Regions from separate parts of the Homo sapiens genome. Here regions 2 and 3 are each linked to region 1. The links are contacts of gene promoters, found by promoter capture Hi-C in blood cells and fetal thymus (Javierre and others, 2016). All regions are on one chromosome and are shown on one strand. The core of a region is centred on a gene start or on the middle of the fragment in contact, and the rest is flanking DNA. Distances in the headings are between cores, read along the strand shown. Region 1 holds the start of HMGCS1 (3-hydroxy-3-methylglutaryl-CoA synthase 1). Region 2 holds the start of SLC1A3-AS1 (SLC1A3 antisense RNA 1). Region 3 overlaps LOC124900962 (a long non-coding RNA gene).

Region 1 (3,605 bases), core at 380-2,879:
CTAATCATTTCCCATTATGTACTCCTGGAGTTGGAATTATTTGCGATTCCTAACGACAAAACTGTATCTTCTTTCTTGTGTTTGTCCTTACTGCCTTTCAGCATATTCCAATATGCCAAGAATTTTAATCTCCTACCCCACCCCAAATTGCTGTTGATCATAATCAGGCAATGTCTCTCTCTCTGTTTACTATCTAGTTACTTTACATACATATGAAGTGAGTCATGGGCAATACTGTGGAATGGAAATCATTACTGAGTGGTCCTCTTCCCCCAAGTCATTTATGCCACCACTTCACAGTGGTTCCATTTCCAATATATTTTGCCACTTTGCTGCTGAGAATGTGTCTTACTAGGTTAGCATCTATAGTGGTTAAAAGAATCTCCCATAACAATAATTGTGTGAATCACAGAATTACCAATGACCCCTTATCAATAGCATTCCTGTTAATTAAATTGAGATGGGGAGAGATACAAACAACTCCGAACCTCACTCATGGTCCCCCACCAAAGCTAAGTATTATGGCTTCTCTCTCTGACCAGATAGAGGCAGAGTTTATTGCAAAGCCACAAGTGTCCTCCTTTGGATTCCCCCAAATAGTGTTTCAGTGAATTCCTCTAGCTTGAATTGCTCCTCTCTATTTGCTGGGGGAGTTAGGCAGTCCGTATCCGATGGATTTACTATGCCGACAATTACGTGGCCTTTCCACAGCCTTTTACTTGGCAGGTACCACATATGAAGCTTAGAAGATACAGTGGGCAACAGGCCAAATGGAGTCCCTTTCCTCAGAGTGCATGGCCTGGCAAAAATCCTTGAATTCAGTATCAACTTCCCTTCACAGGCAAGGCTCTGCACCCTCCCCACGGATGCCTAATCCTGAAACCATTTTGTTTTAGGTTTAGTTAGAAAGCTTTGTCTCAAGAGCACTTTTGTTTGTTCTGTTTTCTTTAAGTCAAGGTAGTTTTGAATAAAGGAGACAATATTTGAGTATTTACAAATCGGGTATTTAGACTATTTACACATATACAAGTTCTGGGTGAAGTATTCTGCTCCAATTTGCAATCTACGCACACTTTGCTAGAAAACGTTAAGACTGAATTCAAATCAAGTACAGTATTTCAGAAATCTTTCAGGTGAAGCCTAGTTCTGGTTGCTAGGCAACCTGACAGACTCCCAAGCTGGGACCACCTCGCCTCCCACATTTGACCATCTCTCCAGCGGTGGGACGCGGAGTACCCATTGGCCCGCATCTCCTCTCACTTAGTCCCAATTGGTCGGAGAACCTCTCACTCCGCTCCCGTTGGCTCTCGCCGTATCTCGCAGCTCCGTCATTGGCAACTGGGCTCTCGTGCCACCTCACGTCAGTCTCTCACACCACTTCCTCGGCCCTGAGACTTTGTCCCCGCCTCTTCTCCCCGCCCTTCCAGCCACGAGGGAAAATCCTAGCGAGTCATCGCCTCTAGTTTCCTTTTGATTGGTAGAAGCCGGACTGGGGGGCGGGCGCTGCCGGGCAACTCTACCGGCCGCGATTGGCTGTGGGAGCCACCGTCCCGCCTCCCAGCGACTCTCGGCGGTGCCGGAGTCGGGTGGGTTGGCGGCTATAAAGCTGGTGGCGAAGGGGAGGCGCCGCGGACTGTCCTTTCGTGGCTCACTCCCTTTCCTCTGCTGCCGCTCGGTCACGCTTGGTGAGTGTCCCGCGCTGGGGAGTAGAACTGGGCTGCGGAGGTGCCGCGGGCGGGGTGTGGGCCAGACAGAGGCGGTGTCCTTGACTAGGCCCGAAGGAGCTGGGGCTCTGGGTCAGGACGTAGGCGTGGACTTTGCCCGGGAGGATGGGGCACCGTGAGCGGGGCCGGGCGGGGGTTCCCTCGTGAGGGACCTGAGGCCGACCGTAGCGGATCTGAGAAGATCCGAGAACACAGGCGAGTCGCGGAGGGGAGAACGCGAGAGGGCGTTGAGGTCTAGGTATTCTAACGACAGAGGAGTTGGAGGTGCCAGAGAGGCAGCTGTGACCGCCTAGAGGTGAGTGGGGGGTGTCAGGAGGGGGAGAGAAGACAGTTGGGCTACCAAGGCGTTTCCAGAGCGTTGGTTAAGGGTGGACGCCAAAGGATGGGCAAGATCCTCTTTAGACGGAGGCTGGTAGGTTCGCAGGGGGTGTGTCCTGCTGCCACATATAGAGTTGATGGAAAGAAGGGAAGTGGGTAGCATTACTTTTCTTCCTCAGCTCAGGTGCAAGAAAGCGTTCACAACCGTGATTTAGACCTGGCTAAGTACTGGGGCTCAGTCTGTACTTGCTTCAAATCTCATAGATCACTGCCTCCCGCCTTCCTGCCTCCATATTTTTTTTTGTCTACGTTTTAAAAAATAGGCTTCCTTGGTGTTCTGAAATCCCACATCTCTCTCCTACTAATACCTTCGGGACCAGCTTTAGGTGATACAGTGTAATGGGCAGGCACTCACAGAGTCCTCCCACAAATAGGTTTTGGATTAAGCTAAGGATATTTCAAAGCAAGTATATGGAGTCTTTGAAAACCCACGTCTGGCCTTGACCAGTGGTAGAGAAACGATTATTCTGATCCACTCTGGAGGAGGGATTTGGGGAACAAATAATGTGAGGTTGTGCCTGTTTGTCATGCTTGTCCCTATGGCCTTAGCCTTAAGGCATCAGTAGCTGCTTTCACTGCTCACCTCTGCTGCAGCTCCCCACCTTCCCGAGGATGCTCTTGCCACCTGCTGCAGTAGGATGATGTGTTCTGGTTGCTGCTAACTAACATTTGCTCTGTTTTAGGCATGAATATGAAAAACAATGACAAGATAAACAACAAAATTAAGACAAATGGAAGTGCTCCTAGAGTTAACAGATTTTTCCTTCTGAGATGTGTTTTGGACTTTATTGCACAGATACTATTAGATGAGAGGCAGTTGAAAGTCGTTAACATTATCCGTGTCAGTAGTTCTTTGCACTTGAGACACCTAAGCAGCTTGTGTTCTTTAAACTTTATTTTAAAATTGCAGTTATTTTTGTGTGAAGAAGGGGGCAGGGATAGCATACCTTATGGGAAGAGAGAAAGGCTTTCTTTGTGTCTACCTTTGTAGATATTTCTCACCTAAGTTTGTAAGTTTGCCCTTTATTCGGTTCTACTTTAGTTCAGCTCAATTCTAGTATAATCATCAGTAACCCCAGCACTCAGAAGGTCTGACTTACGCTGTGGGGAGGGAGTGTAAAAGGATATTTTATGTTTGGAGCCATAGGCCACATCATTTGGGCCTTGTTTTAATTTTGTTTTTCATCTTAAATATCCCTCCAGATTGCTTTTACATCTTGTTTCTTTTAACTGTGGATTGATTTTGAGATTTTGACTTAGATTTTAGATAGCTTTTCTCAGAAGAAATAAACGCAAAAACCCGATATTGTTGTAACATCAGTTTCCTGTGTCCTCTAGAATCATTTAAAACCTGGTTGGATCTTCCATAATCCAGTGGAATTGGATATGAGATGTAGCTGGAGAAGTTTGTTTTGCTACATATCAGAATCTCCAATTAGTTTCATTTAGAAAGGAATATAGCCTTATAATTTTATGCTGGGTTACTGTGGAACCAAATATCAT
Region 2 (3,919 bases), core at 758-3,257, 6.6 Mb after region 1:
GCAGCCTCCCTGTCCTCTTCCTGATGCCATGCCTGCTCCATTGCTTTGCTTCTTCTGGATCCTGTTTCGCCCTCTCCCTCAAGAAGGAGATCCTGAAATAGATCCTGAGTCAATGACTCAGGTGCAAGTGCTTTATTAAAGAAAGGCTCCCAGAAGAAATCTACTTGCACCCGAATCATTGACTCAGGATCTCCTTCTGGGAGAATCCAAGCCAAGACAAGACAGACAACCCAACCAACTGAGCTGCTCACAGCTTCAACTGCTACAACCCTGGAAAGGATTCTGATTGGCTAGCTAAGGGTCACATGCCCAAATGGGCCTTTGATTGGCAGCTGTTGCTTCCTTCCTACTCCCTCCCACACACCCAGGAGCTCCAGCCTGTTATGGGATGGGCATCCTACCAGGAACCAAGGATGCTAAGGTAAGCAGTCCTTGCCCTCATAGGTTTACTTATACTTAAGGGGAGAGAACCGTTAGTCAAATCACCCCACATACAGATCTTTACACACTATGAAGGACAAGCACAGGGTGCAGTCAGTGGGAGGGGCCCAGAACGGGAAGTGCCATGCTGGCTGCTGCTGTGTGGAATGGGCTGTAAAGAGAGCAAGAGTGAAAGCCACAGCAGGGGAGCTGGTCAGAGATGGCAGTGGCTTTATTAGAGTGGTGGCCCTGGAGTTGGAGACAGGTGGGAAAAACTCAAGAGCCCTCTAAGGAACCGACCCATGGCAGTCCATCGCCACCAAGTCCCTCTTACCACTCTAGGTTTAAAGAAACCCAAAAAACAAAACTACGTTGCAACTGCACTGCTACACCAGGAAACCTAAGGGGGAACAAAAGAAAACTTAGTAGTGCCCTCTAGGCTGAAGATTTGACCTATTATTTACTAACCTTTCCCTCCCTCTTCCTTATTTTCAACAAATCTCCTGCCATCCATTTTGAATTCTTCTCTAAATAGAGAAAGCTTTCTTTCTCAGCTTCATTTAAATGTCCACCATGGTATTTACCCATGTTTTCTTGATTTTTATTTCTTTTTGGGGCGGGTATCTAAAAGATAATCTGATCCCTGTTCCTGATTCTGTAGGTGACAGAGAGAAGTGGTTTTCTCATTTTTTTGTGTGTGAAATTATTCGCATATGAGGAAAAGATAGCTCAAAAATAGAAGCTCTTTCATTATCTCTCCACAATGTAGTGTGGCCCCAAGTGACTATTTTGTGGAGACACGGTAATTTGGGGTGGCTAAATCATTACCCCGAGGTGTGTCAGATGCTGCCAAGACCTCCTTCATTCATGTGGCCAAGACTGTGGGCTTCCTGGCTGGGGAGGCAGAGGCCCTGCTCTTCTGCTGCTAACCTTGGGGTCAGCGAGCCCTGATCCACACTTCCTCTGGGCAACATCAATGGGGCTGCTGAACATATTGAGCCAGACTTGTTTCCAAGAGATAGAAGGAACTAGAGCATTGGGGAAAGTCCCAAGTAACTCTAGCCCTCAGCCACCTGCTGTGGCTGAAGATGAAGTCTCTGCAGCTTCAAGAATCCAACTGGCTGGTGCACATTGTTCTCATTGGCTAGATCATTCCTCCATGTAGCACTTCACTAAACTCATTAACAAATATTTACAAATGACATTGCTTTTTGGGGTCATGTATATTTCAGTCTTCAGAATCCATCAGGCACTCAAATCCCTTGGCAGTTCTAGTTCTCTCCCCTAGACATGCCTCTGCCCCCTACTACTCAGTTCCTTTTATTTCTACCATTCGTTTTTATTTTCTATTTCATTTCTTTACTTTTTAGAGACAAGGTCTCTGTCACCCAGGTTGGAGTGCAGTGGCATGATCATAGCTCACTGCAGCCTCAAACCCTTGGACTCAAGTGATCCTCCTGCCTCGGCCTCCTGAGTAGCTGAGACTACAGGTGTGTTCCACCACATCTGGCTAACTTTTGTATTTTTTGTCAAGATGGGGGTCTTGCTATGTTGCCCAGGCTGATTTCAAACTCCTGACCTCAAGCTGTCCTCCAGCCATGGCCTCCCAAAGTGCTGCCTACCATTATAGGCTGCCATGCCTGGCCCTTATTTTTTTTAAAAAATGATCTTCTCCCTTCTATGTAATTCCTATTCTACCTGTATTATTCTTCTTTCCCTGTATTATGCTCGTCCCTTGCTCTTCTTCTCCTCTCCCTTTCATTTTAACCACTCTTCCATCTCCTGCTACTGCATGTGAATCAGATTTGCCCTCCAAATACCGTGTGTATCACCATCAGTTCAGTGGCAGAGGCTGTTCTTGCGCTGGCTTGGAAGATGACAGTTCCCAAAGTATTCCCCATAGAGGCTGATCGGTCTGACCCAGCTAATGCTACCAGTTAAAATAATCCTGGCTCAGGGCCCATGAGACTCACCAGTCCTTATGTGGTATTGGAAAGTGAAACTGATTTGGCAGCCTCATTAGATTATAATCAGCTCGAATCTTCCCTTCTGCCTTCTCAGAGCATCACATGTGTCCCCAGGAACAGCAGAGGGGAAAAACCACCTCTCCTCGCCCGCTTTCTGTATTTCTTCTAAGGTTCTTAGTTCAAATTAAATCTTTACTCTGTGAGAGCAGAGAATGACTCATTGGCCACCATGACTATCACCTTAAGTGGGCTTCTAATTTGTTTTAGAAGCTACTAGCGACCCCTAGGATAGCATCTACAATTTCAAGAGTGTAGTTTCAGAGTACTGACTGTATGCACCAATAGATGCCGGGCTGAGAAGTTGGGACCACATTCGGTAACAAGAGTGATAATAGCTACCAGTTCCTGGTTGCTTAGACACTTCTGTATTAACTTGTTTAATCCTCGGATCAATCCTATGGGGTATTTACTATCTTATCTTATTTTAGGAGGTGGACGCTGAAGCACAGAGAGGTTAAGTAACTTGCCTAAAGTAACAGAGTTAATAAGTGGCAGAACCAGGATTGGAGCTCCAGGAGACTGGCTCCAGAATCTGTGCTATTAATAGTTCCTTGCATCATAATCTGTAGGTTATGAGAACTACAGAAGGTTGGTACCTAAGCTTGGCACAAAGACAATGATACTTAGGGATAGTCATTTGGAAGGAGAGAGATAGAATAATTGATGGGAAAGTCAAGGAATCCAGTAACAGAGTCTCTGGTAATAATCTTGGTATGTGAATTAGGGTGGAATCTGCGAATGTGGAAAGCTATAGACATGAGAGATGACGTGAAGGAAACATTTGGACTAATGTGGGACATAGAGGGGGAGAGCATGGTGGGAGCGTTCCACCTGAGAGAATGGTGGGACCAGGGTCAGAAGGAGGGGTGACAGAAAGTGCCTCTGACTTGTGTGTAACCCTGAGATTTTAGGCTGATAAGGTTTCAAAGACTCTGGCTCCCCTACACTTCCTTACCCAACACTGTGTCCCCAGAAGGAGGGATGCTGCTGTGGATTAGTTACACTCCATGAGGCCAGCAGGCTTGAGGGCTAGAGGGTGGGGCTTTTGCTGGAAGAAGCAGAGAGATTGGAAAGAAACACCCTGTATCCCTCGTCTTCTCCATGTGTACTTTCTTAGCGTCTTCCTTTGCGTATGCTAGATCATGGGACGTCTGGTCCAGGGCACCTCTGGGCCTGATTATCCCCCAACTTCCTTGGATGACCTTTTGGCTGGGGCAAGGGGAAAGAAGCGTGGAAAGGTATCTTAGGGGACACACATGCTCACATTTTCACACAACCTCATACTTCCTCTTCTGGAGAGAAAATAGCAAGATGAGCCCATCAGGAACATGGTGGGGCCTGGGAGTAATTAGCCAGGTAACAGGATATTCCACCTGCCTTCACTCTAGCTCTGGTGCTCAGAGGAAAAGGGGGCCTCCCAAGCTCCCCAGGGTGGGGCTACAAGTTTGGGACTGAAACTCCAGCCTGTGCTG
Region 3 (3,448 bases), core at 661-3,160, 7.1 Mb after region 1:
TTAGCTAATGTTTAGCCTAATCAAGACTTGATATGGATAAGTTTTCTAACAGAGTGTTACCAAGATTTCTTAATTTCTACCAATCTAGTGGATATAAAATATTATTTCACAATGACATTATTTGTATTTCTCTAATTTCCAATAAGGTTATCTTTTCAAGTATTTATTCACTGTTTGTGTTTCTTCTAAAAAATTCCTGCTCACGCCTGGGCACAGTGGCTCACACCTGTAATCCCAGCACTTTGAGAGGCCGAGGTGGGTGGATCATGAGGTCAGGAGATCGAGACCATTCTGGCTAAGATGGTGAAACCCTGTCTCTACTAAAAATACAAAAAATTAGCCAGGCCTGGTGGCACGCACCTGTAGTCCCAGCTACTCTGGAGGCTGAGGCAGGAGAATCCCTTGAACTCGGGAGGCGGAGGTTGCAGTGAGCTGAGATTGCACCACTGCACTCCAGTATGGACGACAGAGCGAAACTCCATCTCAAAAAAAAAAAAATTCACAATTTTTGCAAAGCTAATCATGTCATTTTCTCCTTTTGGTTGCCTCCTAATATATGCAGGATAAAAGGCAGGTTCCTAAGCATGGATTTAACATTTTCCATTGTCTTTACCCTTGTCTACCTCTCTAGCCTCACTTCCCCATGTTGCCTGCCTCTCTCTAAATTCTCTAAAATTTCAAAATTGCTAGTTCATTGCTTCTATGCATTTGTTCATGGTGTTTCTTCTGTGGAATTTCCTTCTCATTCTTGCTGATAATGGCTAATATTGAATTCATTACTTAAGGCTTAGCTCTTCACATTCCCAAAAAGCCTTCTCTAACTCTTGTTAGGTTGACTTGAGACTTGCTCCTCCAAATTTCTCAGCATTCTGTGTATAACTCTATCACTGCATAGACTTTAGGCTCCTCAAGGGCATGGAAGCTTTTTATCATTTCATCTGTAGCACCTAGCAGGATGCCTGGCCTACAGTGACACTCAAATTTAATTTAATCTCCACGAATGTGTGTTACATGTGTAAGATTTAAGAGACATTATCTAAAAGGAAACTAGATAAGGATTGGAAATTCAAGAGAAAGATCTGGGCTAAAGATGCCAGTAATAGCTGAGGTCATGAAAGGGGCTAATATTTGCCAAGTGTCTACTGTGTAATGGGCACAGTGCTAAGCATCTGTGCATATATTCACAATTTTACAAGGTAGCAATTATATTTTATAAATGCAGAAGTAGTCTCAGGAAGGTTAAACAACCAGTTCAAGTTTCACAAAGCTAATAAACAATAAAACTGAGATTTGAACCAAGATCCTTCCATTACACAACACTGAATGAACTCAGGAGCGTGTGTGTGTGACAGAGAGAGAGAGAGAGAAGGAAAAAAGACGGAGAAGAAGAGACAAGGAGACGAGGACAGAAGACATCTTGGAGATGGGTTTAGGAAGAAGTCAAAAAGGGACATAGAGATGGGAGAAACACTGTTAGGGACTGGTATGTTGGGAGACAGTAAAAGATTTCAAGAAGAAATGATAACCATTTCAAATTCTTTGGAAAGATCAATCAATTAAAGAACTGAAAAAAGTCTTTTGAGTTCCAACAAGATCTTTTGGTCACCTTGGAAACAGCAGTAATTAGCAAAGTAGTGGGGAGAAGCTAGTGTACAACAGGTTGAGGAATGACTAGGAGGCAGGGATGTGGCAATGATGAACAGACTACTCTTTCGAGAATCAGCTGTAAAGGTAAGGCAGGCAATATGTAAAAACAAAGGCTTAGAGGTTGTTTTGTTTTTTTAGAAAAATTTTAAAGATGTCATAGACATGAGCATATTTAAATACTGAAGAGGCAAACTCATTTGGGAGGGAAAATTCAAGATACCTGTGAGAGGATGCCTTCAGAAACACTATTTTTGAGGAGGTGGAAGATGAGACGCAAAATAACTATGGACAAAGGGCTATTCCAACTGAGATGTCAATGTATATGTTTGCAGCTGAAATGAGAGTCAAAAATCTGGGTTTTTATCTGTGAAATGGGAAGAAATGAGGTCCGAGATTTCAAATATGAGCAACAAAACTCAGACTTTGATCCCAAACAGTTTCTCCCTACGCATTTTTTTTTCTCTATCGAATGGATCAATTAACATTCCCCTGTTCACCCTGGCCTCAAACCTAAGCGTCATCTGTGATTTCTCCCTTTTTTTTTTCCTTCCTAATGCTAATGAAGTTTAAAATAGTAAGACTACAAAGGAGTCTGAGGATAGTTATAGATGTTACCTCTAGAAGCTCAGGTTATTAAGGTTGTTACACTACACGTCACTATTAGCAGCTGCTGTGAGGGAAAGTTCTTGGTGAGAACGGGTCAGTGGTAGAACTTTACCAAGTAAACACCTATCGGGCTTCATTGTGTATGCTCCCAGTCCAATACACTACCTGGCACACAGCAGGCACACCGCGGGAACCCACGAATGAACGCTGGTGCTGGTGGGCCCGTGAGGAGAGTCATAGATTCACTGAATCGATTTGGACTTGGTAGAACCTTGGGGTCACCCTAACCCCCTTTTTACAGATGAGGAATCTGAGGCCCAGAAAGATGAGGTAACCTGCCCAAAGTCCAGAAGCGACGTAGCGCCAGGACTACAAAGGAGCAAACACAGTGCCAGGGGAAGGGGATCTAAGGAGCTGCGGAATTGAACAGCAGGATGTGCACTGCCATGTGGTTCTCCCCTTACAATGGGACGTTTCCTTCTGTTCTCGTCACACCCCAGCCCAGGTCCTGATCACTCCACGGGTCATTATCCCAACAGCATCCCTTCCTCCTCTTCTTGCCTCCCAAGCTACCCAAGATTCCAAAGCCAGATCAATAGTCATCAAACATTGCTTTAACTCACTCCTTTCCAGTTAAAAGCTTTCAAAGAACTAATTCATTTGGACTTTGTCCTATAGGTAGGGCTCTTCGGGGGGGCAGGGGGCAGCGGGGCGGGCACTGGGTCCCACGCCGAGAGGATTTCGTGCCAAGCCACGCACACGGTGCAGCAGGAGCCGGGTCCGCCTCCTCAGCCCCCAGCCCGGCCCCAGACACACCAGCTATCACACCGACCCTGGTCAAATAAACCAATGGGCACGTGGTCGGCCTGCAGAACAGAACCCAAGCGAGCATATGCCAGGAACCTGCCTTCCCGCCAGCCGCTCAAAACCCCACCCGCTGGCCCCGCGCCGCCTCAGACCGGATCCAGCTGGATTCCTCAGGGCGACGCAATCGCCTAACAGAATTCTACCTCTTTCTCAGGCCGCAGCCAATGGCGCGGCCCCTCGGATCCGGAGCCGCCGCGGGCTCTGATTGGCCGATAGAGTTAGCCTGGGGGCGGGAGAAGAGCGACCTCGGGGAAGCGTGTGGTGCGGGGAGGTCGCCCCCGGGCGGCGAAGCAGCCATTATGCAGGCGTGAGTGAAACGAATAAACAA

The links. The method cuts DNA at HindIII sites, captures the fragments that hold promoters and counts their contacts. A CHiCAGO score of 5 or more calls a contact.
Region 2: a contact is called between a fragment that was not itself captured here and the fragment with the promoter of HMGCS1 in region 1, in 1 of 17 cell types (total B cells). The highest score is 5.5, in total B cells.
Region 3: a fragment that was not itself captured here is called in contact with the fragment with the promoter of HMGCS1 in region 1 in 2 of 17 cell types (total CD4 T cells and naive CD8 T cells); the score reaches 8.8 in total CD4 T cells.

What each region holds. Positions count from the first base shown.
Region 1 is chr5:43,311,436-43,315,040 of GRCh38, reverse strand. It overlaps HMGCS1 (3-hydroxy-3-methylglutaryl-CoA synthase 1), which reads left to right and starts at 1,629. Exons shown (of 11, transcript NM_001098272.3): 1 at 1,629-1,685. RefSeq lists enhancers at 1-107, 202-716, 717-1,233, 1,240-1,469, 1,720-1,859. The HindIII fragment of the contact is 3,835 bases long and covers 913-3,605 here.
Region 2 is chr5:36,721,616-36,725,534 of GRCh38, reverse strand. SLC1A3-AS1 (SLC1A3 antisense RNA 1) reads left to right here and starts at 347. Exons shown (of 2, transcript XR_007058736.1): 1 at 347-421. RefSeq lists enhancers at 1,350-1,619, 1,660-1,709, 1,720-1,769. The HindIII fragment of the contact is 2,087 bases long and covers 964-3,050 here.
Region 3 is chr5:36,242,075-36,245,522 of GRCh38, reverse strand. All of the region lies in intron 1 of LOC124900962 (a long non-coding RNA gene), which reads right to left. It also overlaps a transcript of NADK2 not described here. Among named protein-coding and RNA genes, the nearest start is that of NADK2, 1.9 kb to the right of the region's middle. RefSeq lists an enhancer at 3,074-3,273. The HindIII fragment of the contact is 1,971 bases long and covers 925-2,895 here.